Linked DNA regions of Homo sapiens: all the other regions are linked to region 2. The links are contacts of gene promoters, found by promoter capture Hi-C in blood cells and fetal thymus (Javierre and others, 2016). All regions are on one chromosome and are shown on one strand. The core of a region is centred on a gene start or on the middle of the fragment in contact, and the rest is flanking DNA. Distances in the headings are between cores, read along the strand shown. Region 1 has its middle 360 kb from the start of OTOL1. Region 2 holds the start of SLITRK3 (SLIT and NTRK like family member 3). Region 3 has its middle 79 kb from the start of OTOL1. Region 4 overlaps OTOL1 (otolin 1). Region 5 has its middle 52 kb from the start of OTOL1.

Evidence for each region. Contacts are between HindIII fragments. The CHiCAGO score rates a contact against its expected background, and 5 or more counts as called.
Region 1: a contact is called between a fragment that was not itself captured here and the fragment with the promoter of SLITRK3 in region 2, in 1 of 17 cell types (M2 macrophages). The highest score is 5.3, in M2 macrophages.
Region 3: a contact is called between a fragment that was not itself captured here and the fragment with the promoter of SLITRK3 in region 2, in 1 of 17 cell types (endothelial precursors). The highest score is 6.4, in endothelial precursors.
Region 4: a contact is called between a fragment that was not itself captured here and the fragment with the promoter of SLITRK3 in region 2, in 1 of 17 cell types (M2 macrophages). The highest score is 5.4, in M2 macrophages.
Region 5: a contact is called between a fragment that was not itself captured here and the fragment with the promoter of SLITRK3 in region 2, in 3 of 17 cell types (endothelial precursors, M0 macrophages and M1 macrophages). The highest score is 11.6, in endothelial precursors.

The regions. Positions count from the first base shown.
Region 1 is chr3:161,859,517-161,862,269 of GRCh38, forward strand. No RefSeq gene overlaps it. Among named protein-coding and RNA genes, the nearest start is that of OTOL1, 360 kb to the left of the region's middle. RefSeq lists an enhancer at 272-838. The HindIII fragment of the contact is 2,625 bases long and covers 115-2,739 here.
Region 2 is chr3:165,195,009-165,197,708 of GRCh38, forward strand. It overlaps SLITRK3 (SLIT and NTRK like family member 3), which reads right to left and starts at 1,376. Exons shown (of 2, transcript NM_001318810.2): 1 at 572-1,376. The HindIII fragment of the contact is 7,642 bases long and covers 1-2,700 here.
Region 3 is chr3:161,574,038-161,576,737 of GRCh38, forward strand. No RefSeq gene overlaps it. Among named protein-coding and RNA genes, the nearest start is that of OTOL1, 79 kb to the left of the region's middle. The HindIII fragment of the contact is 1,612 bases long and covers 454-2,065 here.
Region 4 is chr3:161,501,840-161,504,539 of GRCh38, forward strand. It overlaps OTOL1 (otolin 1), which reads left to right. Exons shown (of 4, transcript NM_001080440.1): 3 at 468-530; 4 at 1,187-2,103. The coding sequence ends at 2,103. Among named protein-coding and RNA genes, the nearest start is that of OTOL1, 6.4 kb to the left of the region's middle. The HindIII fragment of the contact is 6,905 bases long and covers 1-2,700 here.
Region 5 is chr3:161,546,998-161,549,697 of GRCh38, forward strand. No RefSeq gene overlaps it. Among named protein-coding and RNA genes, the nearest start is that of OTOL1, 52 kb to the left of the region's middle. The HindIII fragment of the contact is 2,520 bases long and covers 108-2,627 here.

The sequences.
Region 1 (2,753 bases), core at 177-2,676, 3.3 Mb before region 2:
TGGTCAGTGAAGTTACTTATTTTCTTCTGAAACAAAAATTTACATTTATCTTTATATTTTTTTCTGGAAAGAAAAAGGTTAGCCACAGTTACTTATCACAACCTACTTCTGCTAAGCTTTTCCTTAATTAAAATAAGTGTTTGTGACTAGCAACAGTTATTAAAAGCACATAATATAAATATCTTCTCACATATATTGCTCCTTTTTGTTGTTTAGAAAGAGCACCAGATTATTACCACATAATTTCTTCTCTGATAATCCTTTTAATAAGGGAATAAACTTCAGGAAGTGGTTTTAAAAAATATTACGGCTGAAAAGTGCTAGTGAGAGGAAACTACAGACCTAAACAGCTTTTCCATTTCTTTGGATTTTATATTTTTAACAATAGATTGCATAGTTAGTTGCCTGCTTGGCAAGTTTATTATCCTTATCCAGTTGCCAAGCGAGAAACATTTCCAAACTGACAGCAGGTATTAAAAACACCTACAAGTGATTCAAGCCATTAAGAACTCATAAAACTTGAGTGTTCACTGGGCTTTGCTTTGTTGGCCAGGCTTTTCCTCAGGGAGCCCCCCTCCAGCTCCTGAAAGGAGATGACAGGCATTTCAAGGTGAAAGCATCAGCTTTTAACTGAAACTCTTAGGGTTCCACCCAAACAAAAAGAGAGTATTTTCCTCATATCTAAATATTTAAAGCTGATTCGTCAACTAATCTGGATTAAGAACAAAGGGCATCTGTGTTTCTCTGATACTGTCTAAAGTACTCGTAAAAAGCAGTTGTGGTGTAACTTACCGAACCCATACTTTTCTTTTATATTTTGTTAGTGTCTGTAAAAGGAAGATATCACTTCAGATTTCTTTGTAATGTAGATGCTTAGCAGTTTTTCCTATCATTGTTGAGGGCTGGGTTCATTTGAAAGGCTCTGGTTCAGTTTACTGAGAATTCCATACAGGGATTATGAACTCAAATTACCTATAGGGTTCAGGAAGATAACATAAATATGCAAATTAAGGGGGGGACTGAAGCAGTCAGGAGTATGGGATCCCTTGTGAACAGGACGGGACACATCTCACCTAAATGCATATTCATTTTTATTGTTAACACAAAAACCAAACAAAATACTTGTTAGATCTACAGACCACAAGTTTGAAACTCCTAATCTAGCCTTTGAAAGGAAACTCTGATATCCCCAAGAAAATCATATATTGGACCCCTCACTAAAATGGCCAACTCACTGTCTGTAAGACAATCAAACAATGGGATGAAGAAAATGAATTTAAACAGAACTTCTTTAAAAACTTAAAAGACTTAAGTATCTGCTGGGGAACATTACTTCTTTTACTTTAAAACATATTAAGATGCATGACTTTGAAGCATTGCTTGCCTGTAAGTCTTAGCTAAGGGCAAACATTTTATTGGTGCTCCAACACCCTATTATTAGATTTATTTCAGAACGTTCTCTTAACTTTGCATCTAGTAGTACTATACAAAAATATTTTATATAAAAATAAAAAATAACAGTAATTACATTTTTAAAAATATCCACATCCACAAGAGCAGAGGGAATGATAGGGGGCAGGTAACAGTGGGTGAGTGTTGGCAGGATACCAGCATTTTTATTTTTTTATTTTTTATTTTTTTGAGACTGAGTTTCGCTCTTGTTGCCCAGGCTGGAGTGCAATGGCGCGATCTCGGCTCACTGCAACCTCCGCCTCCCGGGTTCAAGCGATTCTCCTGCCTCAGCCTCCAAGTAGCTGGGATTACAGGCATGCACCACCACATCTGGCTGATTTTGTACTTTTAATAGAGACGGGGTTTCTCCTTGTTGGTCAGGCTGGTCTCAAACTGCCGACCTCAGGTGATCCGCCCACCTCGGCCTCCCAAAGTGCTGGGATTACAGGCGTGAGCCACCGTGCCCGGCAGTATATATTTTTAAGATTGGAAGTTCATAGTTGGGTGAGAAGTACCTGAAAGTGGAAGAGGCTGAAACCTAAAAACATATCGGGGGCAGGCGGAGGGTGGGGGTGCGGGAGTGGTGCTAGTAAATGCCAATTGATTCATCTGTCAAACCCTAGAATAACTCAGAAATTCAAGAAACCAGGTCAATGGAAAGATGGAAATAAATGATGTGACAACAACTGGGGGTTGAGGGACTATTTGGAAGCCTGAAAGAGCTATTAGAATCCCTGGATATCTACTTTATTCCACAGAGTAAAGTTATTAGTCCAGCCCGGCCCTCAAAAAAACTGGTTGATGTATATTTTGGAGCAATTGCATTCTGTACTCTAAGAAGCCAGACATATTGGAAGGAGAGGTTGAGGTAGTGTGCTGAGAACAGGTGTTTTGTTTCAAATATACTGGCAGCCAGACAAACCCCCAGGCAGGAGACTGGAGGTTGGGAGAAACTAAATCTCAAAGAAGAGATGTACAGAGAGTGATATTTTGGTGTACCTGACCAATCACATGGCAATGAAGAAGTTTCAATAGTTAGTGTATCATTTAAAAAAATTGAAAATAGATATATATGTAATTATTAAATATTTCAAGCAAAGAAAGCAACACACACCCATGAGTATACGATCAAAATTTTAAAAGATGCTAATATTTTCCATATTAGCTTCAAAGTTTTCTCTTTAAGAAAAATAAATTAGCTACTGCTAAAGTAGCATCCTGATCCTTTCATTCTCTATTCATCCCATTCACTTTGAGGTGAACACATTCCTGTATTATTCCCTTGCAAGCTTATCTATTTT
Region 2 (2,700 bases), core at 126-2,625:
GCTGTGCCCCCTTCCCACTTCCTCCTCCCCACTGCTGGATCTTACAGCTCACTAATTTTTTCAGATCTAAGATTAAGTATTCCAATATGGAAGCAAAACTATCTTCCCTAGAACAAATAATTAAAACGCTGCATCATTCATTTTCTGAAGAGCTTTGAGCCGTCTATAGAGCCTTTTCTAATCTGCTGTCGTCAGGCGAAACGCACAATGGTCTGTTTAGAAACGGAAAATTATTAAAAGCTCAAGCCTTTTTCCTTCTACCTCTTACAACACCAGCGAGCATTCCACTGGGGGAGGGGTCCTTCGCTCCGCCACCTGGCCTATTTGTTGGAGTTACTTACGATGTCTTCACCCAGAAAAGAGGTCCGAGGGTATGTTAGTCTCCGGTACCCCTCCTTCCACCAACGTCCTTACACCTAACTGATCCAATTCAAAACTGCAACAAACCCCTAGCACCTGTGAGCGTACAGAATACACCGCGGCCAAACTCGATGTGCTCTACAATGCACATCCTACATACGAGAAATACTGGTTTCAATTAGGCGAAGTAGGAAAGGATGGCGGCGAGTACCTATGGTGCAGAGCGCTCAGGATCTCCGAGGTTTGCTGCGAGGGGCTACCCAGCAGGAGGGGCAAACTCTCTGCGAAGCTGAATTGTATCCATCATACTGTAGCCTTGTAGCTTCTCCTCTTCTGGCCACCAACTTTCCGAAAGGCTACCGAATCACGCTTGTAATCCGTTTAAATGTTTCCACCTTTGAGACTTGCAGGGAAATGGTCGCTGCATACCAATGGGAGAGCGGGGCGCGCACCTAGCGCGGCGATGCCAGCGACAGGGAGCTCACGACCACAGCTCCCTATGCCCTCGATGGTTGGTAGGCAGGCAGGCAGAGTGAGTGTCCCAGGACTAGGTTCCTTTGATTTAAAATCTCGGTGCTCTGGATCAGTGGAGAGCTTCGTTGTTCCCGAGAGCCTGAGCTCAGTCTCTGGATTTCTCTCTTTCTCTCTTCCTCAAAGGTTGTCACTCACAGCGCAATCCCTGCCCGAGGCCTCCTTCCATCCGAGAAGATGGAATTAGCCCTTGCTTTTCCAGGGTGTCTTTGCTCTTTGCCCTTTAGGTGGGTGGGAGTGGGGGTTGGTGGCGTGTAGATGAGAGAAGAAAAGGGTGGGGAGAGGCGGAAAGGAGGCAGGAAGGGGGCGACTAGATCTCAGATCCCAGCATTGGTCAGACGGCGAAGGTGGGGGGAAAGAAGGAGAGGGGGAGAGAAGATACAAATACACAGTATGGCTGTGCACACCAAATTCCACTTGGATTTGGGAGATCTCAGGCAAAGCACGAAGGTGAAGCGATACCGTTGGCAGAGAGTGAGTCCTCTGACCGCTCACCATTCAAGCACCCTCACTTCTCGAGCGGGAGAAGGTGCGGGGGAGGGGGGTGGGAGGGGGAGGGGACTGCTGAACGTTTCAGGCCAAGGAGACGCTCGCGGCGGCGGCGGCGGCGGCATCTTTTAAGACTGACCTGCTTTAAAAGTGCCACTTTAATGGCCTAGGAAATAACTAAAATCGGATTACACGTTACTTACCAACGTCTCCTCCTAAACTGGAGCGCCAGGTCGTGTATAAGGAGTCAATATAGGAAACGCAGGGCTGGAACCTGAATGCAAATCCATCAGCCGCCCCCAAATCGCGCACCAAGGGAGCGGCGCTCGGGAGCCCCCAGATCAGCCCATCGCCGGAGCTCCGCCAGCGCGTCCCCCCCGCACCCCCGGCCCCTCCTCCGCGCCAACTGTGTAAATCAGCCGCCGCAGTCCTCTCGCCGCGCATCGCAGGCAAAATCCCGGCTTAGGAAGCAAGGAAGCAAGTGATCTCTCTCTCTCTCTCTCTCTCTGTCTCTCTCTCTCTCTCTCTCTCTCTCTCTCCTCTCTCTGTCTCTCTCTCTCTCGCTCTCTCTCTCGCTCTCGCTCTCGCTCTCTCTCTCTCGCTTTCGCTGTCCGCCTTTCCCTCTCCCCCATTATCGGTCACAACCTGGCAGCTCTTCAAGAGACACCCTGTGAAATTGAGTGTCGGGAAGTCAGCATTCTGTACCCGTGGATTGATTTGTAACTTTTATTTGCAAATGAGAGAGATGCCTGTTTGGAAAATTACAGCCCAAAAGGTGGAGGGTGATCAAATTAAGAACATCTGAGCTGTATTGGTGGGCGGTATCGCTAAACGCCTCCGGGGAGCGGTTTCCAAGTGATTTGCAGTAATCCCCCACCTTCATGATACATGGGTGACGATTTGAAAGTACACATATTTCCTCATCTGTTTACATTTGCCGGGGGCGGGGGGCATAAAACTGTAGGGCACAGGGAGTTGGGAGGGGGGCATTTGCCTGAGAGATGCTGGATACCATTTCGCGATAAATTAGATACGGACACTGGAACAATTAATACGTGTAATAACACGTATGTGAAAGTATTATTACAACATTACAGAGGCGACCATTACCCCCACTGCAGTCATACTAATGCAGTCATTCGTTTAATGCTCCATTCAATCTGCAGTGTAAACCAACGCAATTCTTTTTAATAGATCCCTTTCATCAGAGACTGTGTTGGAAAGAGGGCAGTCTTCCACTAACTCCCAAAGTGAATAGAAGGTAGCCTGGGGAATCATCTCTGTATCTCTTGCCATTTCTTCCTGAAGAGAATGCAATAC
Region 3 (2,700 bases), core at 10-2,509, 3.6 Mb before region 2:
ACAAAGCCGACATACTAAAATACATTCAATTTTATATCCTTCTCTTTTTTCACTTATGTTAAGTACCTTATTGTCTTATTAAAAACTCTAAAATGGGCCACGTGCTGTGACTCACACCTGTAATCCTGGCACTTTGGGAGGCCGAGGCGGGCAGATCACCAGGTCAGGAGATGGAGACCATCCTGGCTAACACGCTGAAACCCCGTCTTTACTAAAAATACACACACACACAAATAACCGGGTGTGGTTGCAGGCACCTGTAGTCCCAGCTACTCGGGAGGCTGAGGCAGGAGAATAGCTTGAACCCGGGAGGCAGAGGTTGCAGTGAGCCGAGATCGCGCCACTGCACTCCTCCCTGGGCGACAGAGCGAGACTCCGTCACAGACAAACAAACAAACACTCTAAAATGTCATGTAGATTATTTTTCCCCACAAAAATATATAATTTGTCAAAAGCTTAGGAAAGGCTGCTGCCTCATTTTAGTATTTATCCTCTTTTCTCCTTTCTCTTTTATAGCCTTAATCTTTTCCTCTCAATCACTTCAATCTCAATCTCTCATTTTAAACATATTTTCTAAGCATATGTCTCATTCTAATTCTTGCCCTTTCTCCTCCTTCTTGAAAGAGGTCAGTCTTTCACTTTTGAAACCATTCTATTTAGACTTCTGCCTCCAACAATCTGTAGCACAATGAGCTCTGGAAATTGGTGCCACTGACAGCTGGGGCACTCAATCCACTGGCCTCTTTGCAGTTTTACCTTGACCTCTCTGTGTAACCAGTTTTTGGAGGGCTACACTTTCTCTGCCCAATCCTTAGTGTGCTGGTGTCTTCTAGGACTCAGTCCTTGCTCCTCTTTTCAATCTTTGCACTCATCCTCTCCTGTGACTCCTACCACAATTCGTGTGTCCATTACTCACAAGTACACCCTTCAGACCCAGCTCTCCATTGGCTATGATCACTTAGATGCTCCTCAGACAGTTCCAACTCTTTATGTCTGAATGCCACTATTCTTTCTTCTCTCTGCTTTGCTTCTATTGGATTCTGTCTTTCATTCTCCTCTTTCCAAAATCAAAGTTTTGCGAAACCGCTTCACTCCTTCATTCTAACTCCTTCACCTCTGTTAGCATGTCAAAAAGTCCTGAAAGACAACCTCTCTTGTACCACCCATGGCTGCCTCCTCTCCTCTCCAGAGCTGCTACCTCAATTCAGTCCTATGATATTGTTACCTTGAGTACTGGCTCCCACTTCTCTGTTCCTCCTATTCACTGATAGTAGTGATCTTCAATCTGTTTGCCTAACAGTATTCAAATTGTAAGACTTAGATGAAAAGTTAACCTTATAAAAACTTTCCTGACTTTCATCTCCCCATTGTAAAGTTGAACACTCTTTCCCTTGTGACTCTCTACTGTACCATGCACATCCCTTCTCAGGGTACTTAAACTCATATATATTTACATGTATTTTTTTTCTGCATTAGACTGCAACCCACTATAAAGCAGGAATCATGTTTAGAAAAATATGACTTATTTGTCTTTGTATTTTTTGTGCCTGGAACATAGTTGATATATAGTAAGTCATAAATGTACAAAGGGTCAGATTGATAATACTTAATCTTTTTGTTTAGTAAAGTATTGTAAATATTTCCAATTTACAGTTTATATCTAATGCTATAAAACTTATAATACATCTCTATTTGAATTTTACATTCTTTCTTAAAATAAGAATAATCCTCAGAAGTGAAATTACAGGGATAAATAGTATAAACATTTTAAAGATTCCTGATACATATTGCCCAAATACATATCAGAATATTTTCTGATGTTTCTAATAGTCAACATAAATTTTTATAATTTTTTGTTTTTAAAAAAATAACATAATGAAATCACAGATTCTTTGCAGTTTTCCTATAGGAGAGTTATTTTAAGGTTGGATAATGTTCAGTTTGTATTTGTAAACTCACATAGCAACATGCTGAAGTTAGTAATATTAAATTACCCTTTATCTTCCAATGTCATTGAAAGTACAGAAGATAGCATTTAATATAAGCCAAATACGCAATGTGTAAAAGCTTTAGGGGTCTTTTTCTTTCTTTTCTTTTGGTCACAGTCTAATAAATTCCTAGTGGACTTTTGATTATTAAGACACAGTGCAAGGCCTGCCTTTTTAACCTTCCTTTCTGAATAGACTATTGATTCAACTAAACTGCTTTTTAAAAATTCAATATGCGCATCTGGGGAGTCTGCTACCTCTGTGCTTTACAGGAAGGTTGTGAGGATTAATACATTTATATAGCATTATGTGACTCTTGGATGAAAGGATTGGTATAAACAACAACTCTAGTATTGTTATTTAAAAGCGAACTTTCTTTGTGGAAAGTAAAAAAGGCTTTCCACAGTAACTTTTGATTAAAAGTTATGTACTCCAGTACTTTTTTTTTCCAAAGGCAATCTCCAAGGAAGTCTTGAAAATTGTATACCTTGCCAACTGCTGACACGATGCAGCAGAAAGGATAAGTGATATAGACTCATTTCTGTCCATCTATTTTAGGCAAGTATGGCCTTGATTTAGTCTCAGCTCATCTTAACTGCCCTGGGTGTGGTGTGTTGTGCTTTGCTTATGTTTTGAAGTAATTTCTTGATGGATTTTAATTGTTTAATTAGATCTAAATTCATGTGAATAATTTCCTAGCAGATCTCTCTCT
Region 4 (2,700 bases), core at 156-2,655, 3.7 Mb before region 2:
ACCAGTTGAAATTAATTATTCCTAATGACCCTCAATACATTTTTTTTGACCAAGTCTCACTCTGTCACCCAGGCTAAAGTGCAGCGGTGTGATCTCAGCTTACTGCAATCTCCACCTCCTGAGTTCAAGCAATTCTTGTGCCTCAGCCTCCCAAGTAGCTGGGACTACAGGTGTGCACCACCAAACCCGGCTAATTTTTTGTATTTTTTGTAGAGATGGGGTTTCACCATGTTGGCCAGGCTGGCCTGGAACTCCTGACCTCAGGTGATCCACCCGCCTCGGCCTCCCACAGTGTTGGGATTATAGGAGTGAGCCGCCGTGCCTGGCGTACATTCTTTTTCCACACGATTTAACTTTAGCCCATTTTGGTTAAAGAAAACACTAGAATGTGACATGGTTGTGAGAGGAATATTAAATATATCATAAATGATGTAGTTGGTAAAAAGTTAATCTTGGTATCATCTTAGGACTCAAAGGAGAACGTGGGGACCAAGGAGTTCCAGGATACCCAGGAAAACCGGGAGCACAAGGTAGAGCATGAAATGTATCTACTGTGTACAGTCAGGTGCGCAGTATAGCCCTTCATTCTCTTCCTGCTTGTATTTAAAATTATCAGAGAGGTAAGCTGAAAATACAAATTACTGTTATTCTTCTAATAATTCAGTGTACTGACTCAGTGAAGGAGAACCAGTCTAGGAATTTGGAGACCAGGTAATAGTATCTGTGCTCTGCTTCTCTCTCTAGCTGTCAATGGAAAATAAAAATCCCTCACTCGTTCTGGGTCTCAGTTTCCTTGCCAATAATAATTTAGGCTTGAATGGACAATATGGGGATTTAGGGGAATACCTGGGTTAGGCCAAAATGCAAAGGGTAATGGAATACAACGAACAACTACAGTCCTAATATTCTTTATTATCTTAAAAGTGAAAAAACAAAAAGAATTAGATATATGGCATCTGAATATAAGCCACTGTTTCTTGGAAACATTAACTATTCCCCTTCTAAGAGCATGGCATAATATAAATTATTCATTGTCAGAGCCTCCTAAGTGTGCACAGTTTTTACTGAGGAAAGAATCAGGTTTCCTAATTAGTAGGTTTGTTTCTACTTTTTTGAGCTCTGTGGTAATAGCATGCTGTTTATGGCCTATGTGATCCTTAAACATTATTTTAATTTTCCATTTCAGGTGAACCTGGCCCTAAGGGAGATAAAGGAAACATTGGTTTGGGAGGAGTGAAAGGACAAAAAGGCTCCAAGGGAGACACATGTGGGAATTGTACCAAAGGAGAAAAAGGAGACCAAGGGGCTATGGGCTCACCTGGCCTGCACGGAGGGCCTGGCGCCAAGGGAGAGAAGGGGGAGATGGGGGAGAAGGGGGAGATGGGGGATAAGGGCTGCTGTGGAGATTCTGGGGAGAGGGGAGGAAAAGGACAGAAAGGTGAGGGGGGTATGAAAGGGGAAAAAGGTAGCAAAGGAGACAGTGGAATGGAAGGCAAAAGCGGCCGTAATGGTCTGCCTGGGGCCAAAGGTGATCCAGGGATTAAAGGAGAAAAAGGAGAGTTAGGTCCTCCTGGTCTCCTGGGACCTACTGGGCCGAAGGGTGACATTGGCAACAAAGGGGTCCGAGGCCCCACTGGGAAGAAGGGCTCTCGGGGCTTTAAAGGCTCCAAGGGTGAGTTGGCTAGAGTGCCCCGGTCGGCTTTCAGCGCTGGTTTGTCAAAGCCATTTCCTCCTCCTAACATCCCCATCAAATTTGAAAAGATTCTCTATAATGACCAAGGGAATTACAGTCCTGTCACTGGGAAGTTTAACTGCTCTATTCCTGGGACATATGTTTTTTCCTACCATATTACGGTGAGGGGGCGACCTGCTCGAATCAGTCTGGTGGCCCAGAATAAGAAGCAGTTCAAGTCCAGAGAAACTCTCTATGGTCAGGAAATAGACCAGGCCTCTCTCCTCGTCATCTTGAAATTAAGTGCAGGAGACCAAGTCTGGCTTGAGGTGTCAAAAGATTGGAATGGGGTGTATGTCAGTGCTGAGGATGACAGCATTTTTACTGGGTTCCTTTTGTACCCAGAGGAAACTTCTGGAATTTCACCATAAATTTGTGTCCTGAATCCTGTAGTTTAGATTCAGTGGAATAAGTCAGTTAACACAGAGTAGTGCTATTAAAAAATAACTTCCATTTTTTCAAGATTATAAAAATAATACAGAAAAATTTAAAAAGTCACCTAGTCAATTATTATTCCTATTTTAAGGCACCTCCTTTAAAAATATTTATATGTATTTCAGAGCATATGTCTATTAACTTTGTAGGTAGCTTTTAAAATTTGGCATTATTAGCATTAGTCATTCCATTTAAGCATAATAATTAATATTTGTATACAAAGTATGAATGGGATTTATAATTAATAAATGTATTCTTGCTAAATATCTTCTATATCTCAGATCAATGTGTGTCACTTCTTTCTGTGTGAATTGCAGAGTATGACAGCAAGTTTTTGACTCTCTTGGGTGGGTTGCCTTCTGACAAAATGGAGCTATTCTCATGTTAGTTTAATTCATGGAGATGACACAGAAAGGGTGGCAAAGACTAGCTAAAGGATATTTAAAATTTATCAGTGTGTAAAGGTTTGCTTAGAAAACTTATATTATATGGACTTGTGTATTGGGTAAAATGTAAGAAAAAGTTGATGATCA
Region 5 (2,700 bases), core at 118-2,617, 3.6 Mb before region 2:
CATGAGCCACCACATATGACCTTATTTATAATAAGAATCATTTTTAGTTATAAAAAAGTAGGGGCAACATTGCTAATAGAGAAGTCTTTTGTTAATATAAACAGTAAAGCTTCTTTCATTCTTTTCAGTCTCTCTCAATGTTCTATTCAGGTTTTATAGTTGTGGGAGAGCATATCTGATTTTACATGATTGTTCCCCCAAGTGTCTGAGATCAATGTTAAAGTATTCTGAGAAACTTAAGACTATTGCTATTTTTCTTCACATACAAATAGAATCATCCATTTTTAGTGGCTTTATTCATCAAACTAGTCAGATGATAGCCAGATTAGCTAGGAACACACAACATAAGTTGATCAGTTTGGTCTGACTATTGGTATAACTTTTTCACTAAACTAACTTGGTTTCCTTGCTTTGACACAACTAGTCAAATCATTTGGAGCAATGAAATTGACCTGCTTTGAGTAAACTTTGGTTTTACTGGATCTGTTGGGATACTTGGCTATGAAGCGTGGAAGAATCTGAATAACTCTTTAATGCAAACTTTGGTTGGTGTCTTTCTAAAGATAGTATTATATCTAGGATTGGATAAAGCCTATGTTAAGAAAAAAAATGTCTCTTGAACAAACAGTGGTCTAGAAACAAACTTAAACCATGCTAAGTTGTGTGTTAACCACCAAATCTTTATGACATAAATTTTCCAATTCACGGTGCTTTGATTTGGATTTAGATTCTGATTCAAATTACAGATAATACTGGATTACATCTGTTCCTTGTAGTTGTGGGAAATTCACTTAACCGTTTTTTTTTTTTACCTCGGTTTCTTCAGCTTAAAAAAAACGCTATTACTTGATCTGCCTACCCCGTCTTACAGGGTTGGTATAAAGATACAATGGAAAATGAATACAAGATTTCTTTATAAAAAGTATTTACAAGAATCTTATGTGAGTTTTCTGAATTAATTATTTAACTGCTTTTTCTGCATAAAAATTTAAAATATGTTGGTTTTAGTTTCTCCTGCATTCCTCCCAAATTAGAATTCATTTTTAATATTTGTATGGAAAATAATTATTTTGGGTTAGCAGGATTTAGCATTTTCAAAAGACTAAGAAAAATACATCAGAAGGTAGAGTGGTAGTTTATGTGCTGTCCCTAGAGAAATAGCTTTAGGATTCTGTTTTGGGATCAACAGCTCTACTGTATACAAAAGTGATAAATAATAAAAATTTAAATAATAGCTGGCACTCACTGATCATTTACCATGAGCTAATTACTATCTAAATCACTTGCTATAAAACAACCCATTAAATCTTGCAAAAGCTCTATGGAGTAGACACTGTTATTATCCTCATTTTACAGTTGGGAAGCCTGAAGCACAGAGAGGTTAAGTAATGTCCCGAAGATCACACAACTCTACAGTGGTAGAGCTAAGATTTGTAGGCAGGAAGTCTGGCTCTAGGCTTTGTGCTCTTAACCACTGTACTATACTTTGTTTTGTTAATTTATTTTCCCGTCTCCTTGACAACGTTACTGGATCTGTTTCAATTTCTTTACCATTAGCAAAGAAACTTTTTGGTCAGCATTTTCAGGCAGTTTTCCTATTCAGCCATGGAAAGTCATTTGAAGTTCTTTCTGTGGCAATAGATGTGAAGATTCAGCTGGATTTTGCCTTGCATAAGCTACGTGTGTAATTAAGGAATTTTTCAGATATAAGGGTTCTATAAGTAAGTAGAAGTCAGATTGCCATGGCCAGTACTTCAATGAAAAGACAATTAACTCCATTATAACTAGTTTTGCTGCTTTTATTTGGCTAAAAGAACGAGAGATATTAAAATAACTTTAACTGATTTTGTTTCTGGTCAAGAACTAACAGTGGTAACGCTTTGAGCCATTATTAGAGCACACTTTAATATTCTATTAAATATACTCTTTTTGTTGTTTGTTTTTTAAACAGAATCTCATTCTGTTGCCCAGGCTGGAGTGCAATGGCGTGATCTTGGCTCACTGCAACCTCTGCTTCCTAGGTTCAAGTGATTCTCTTGCCTCAGCCTCCCAAGTAGCTGGCATTACGGGTGTGTACCACCATGCCCAGTTAATTATTTTTATTTTTATTTTTGTATTTTTAGTAGAGACAGGGTTTCACCATGTTGGCCAGGCTGGTCTCAAACTCCTGACCTCCAGTGATCCACCCGTCTTGGCCTCCCAAAGTGCTGGAATTACAGGCAGGAGCCACCACACCTGGACTAAAGATACTTTTCCATGCTTTTGGTTTCTATTACACAATGCTGGTCAAGTCCATTAGAACCATTTAAAATAATACAATGGTGCATCCTATAAGCACTATGAACAACTATTTTTTGGTCCTCTGTTCCTCAGATCTCTTTTTCTTTAAAATGTGTGTTTGGGTAAGGCAATATTCTCAAGAGGTTCTTTCATCCTGACAGGGCAATGAGACAGATGACTCATCACATACATGTGTTTGGCCATACATGCTGCATTCCTACATGCTTCAGCAAGCTGTAGTTTCTTCCAATCCTTTTTCTATGCAAAGGGAATTTCTCTAAGCTACATATATTGTATTTTCGCCTTTCTCTTCTCTTTTACTTTAAAAATCTTTTAAAACAATTTTAAGCTTATAATAAAATCTGCACCAATCAAAGAACTTTTTTTTTCCCTGAACCTTTTTAGAGTAAGTTGCTGACA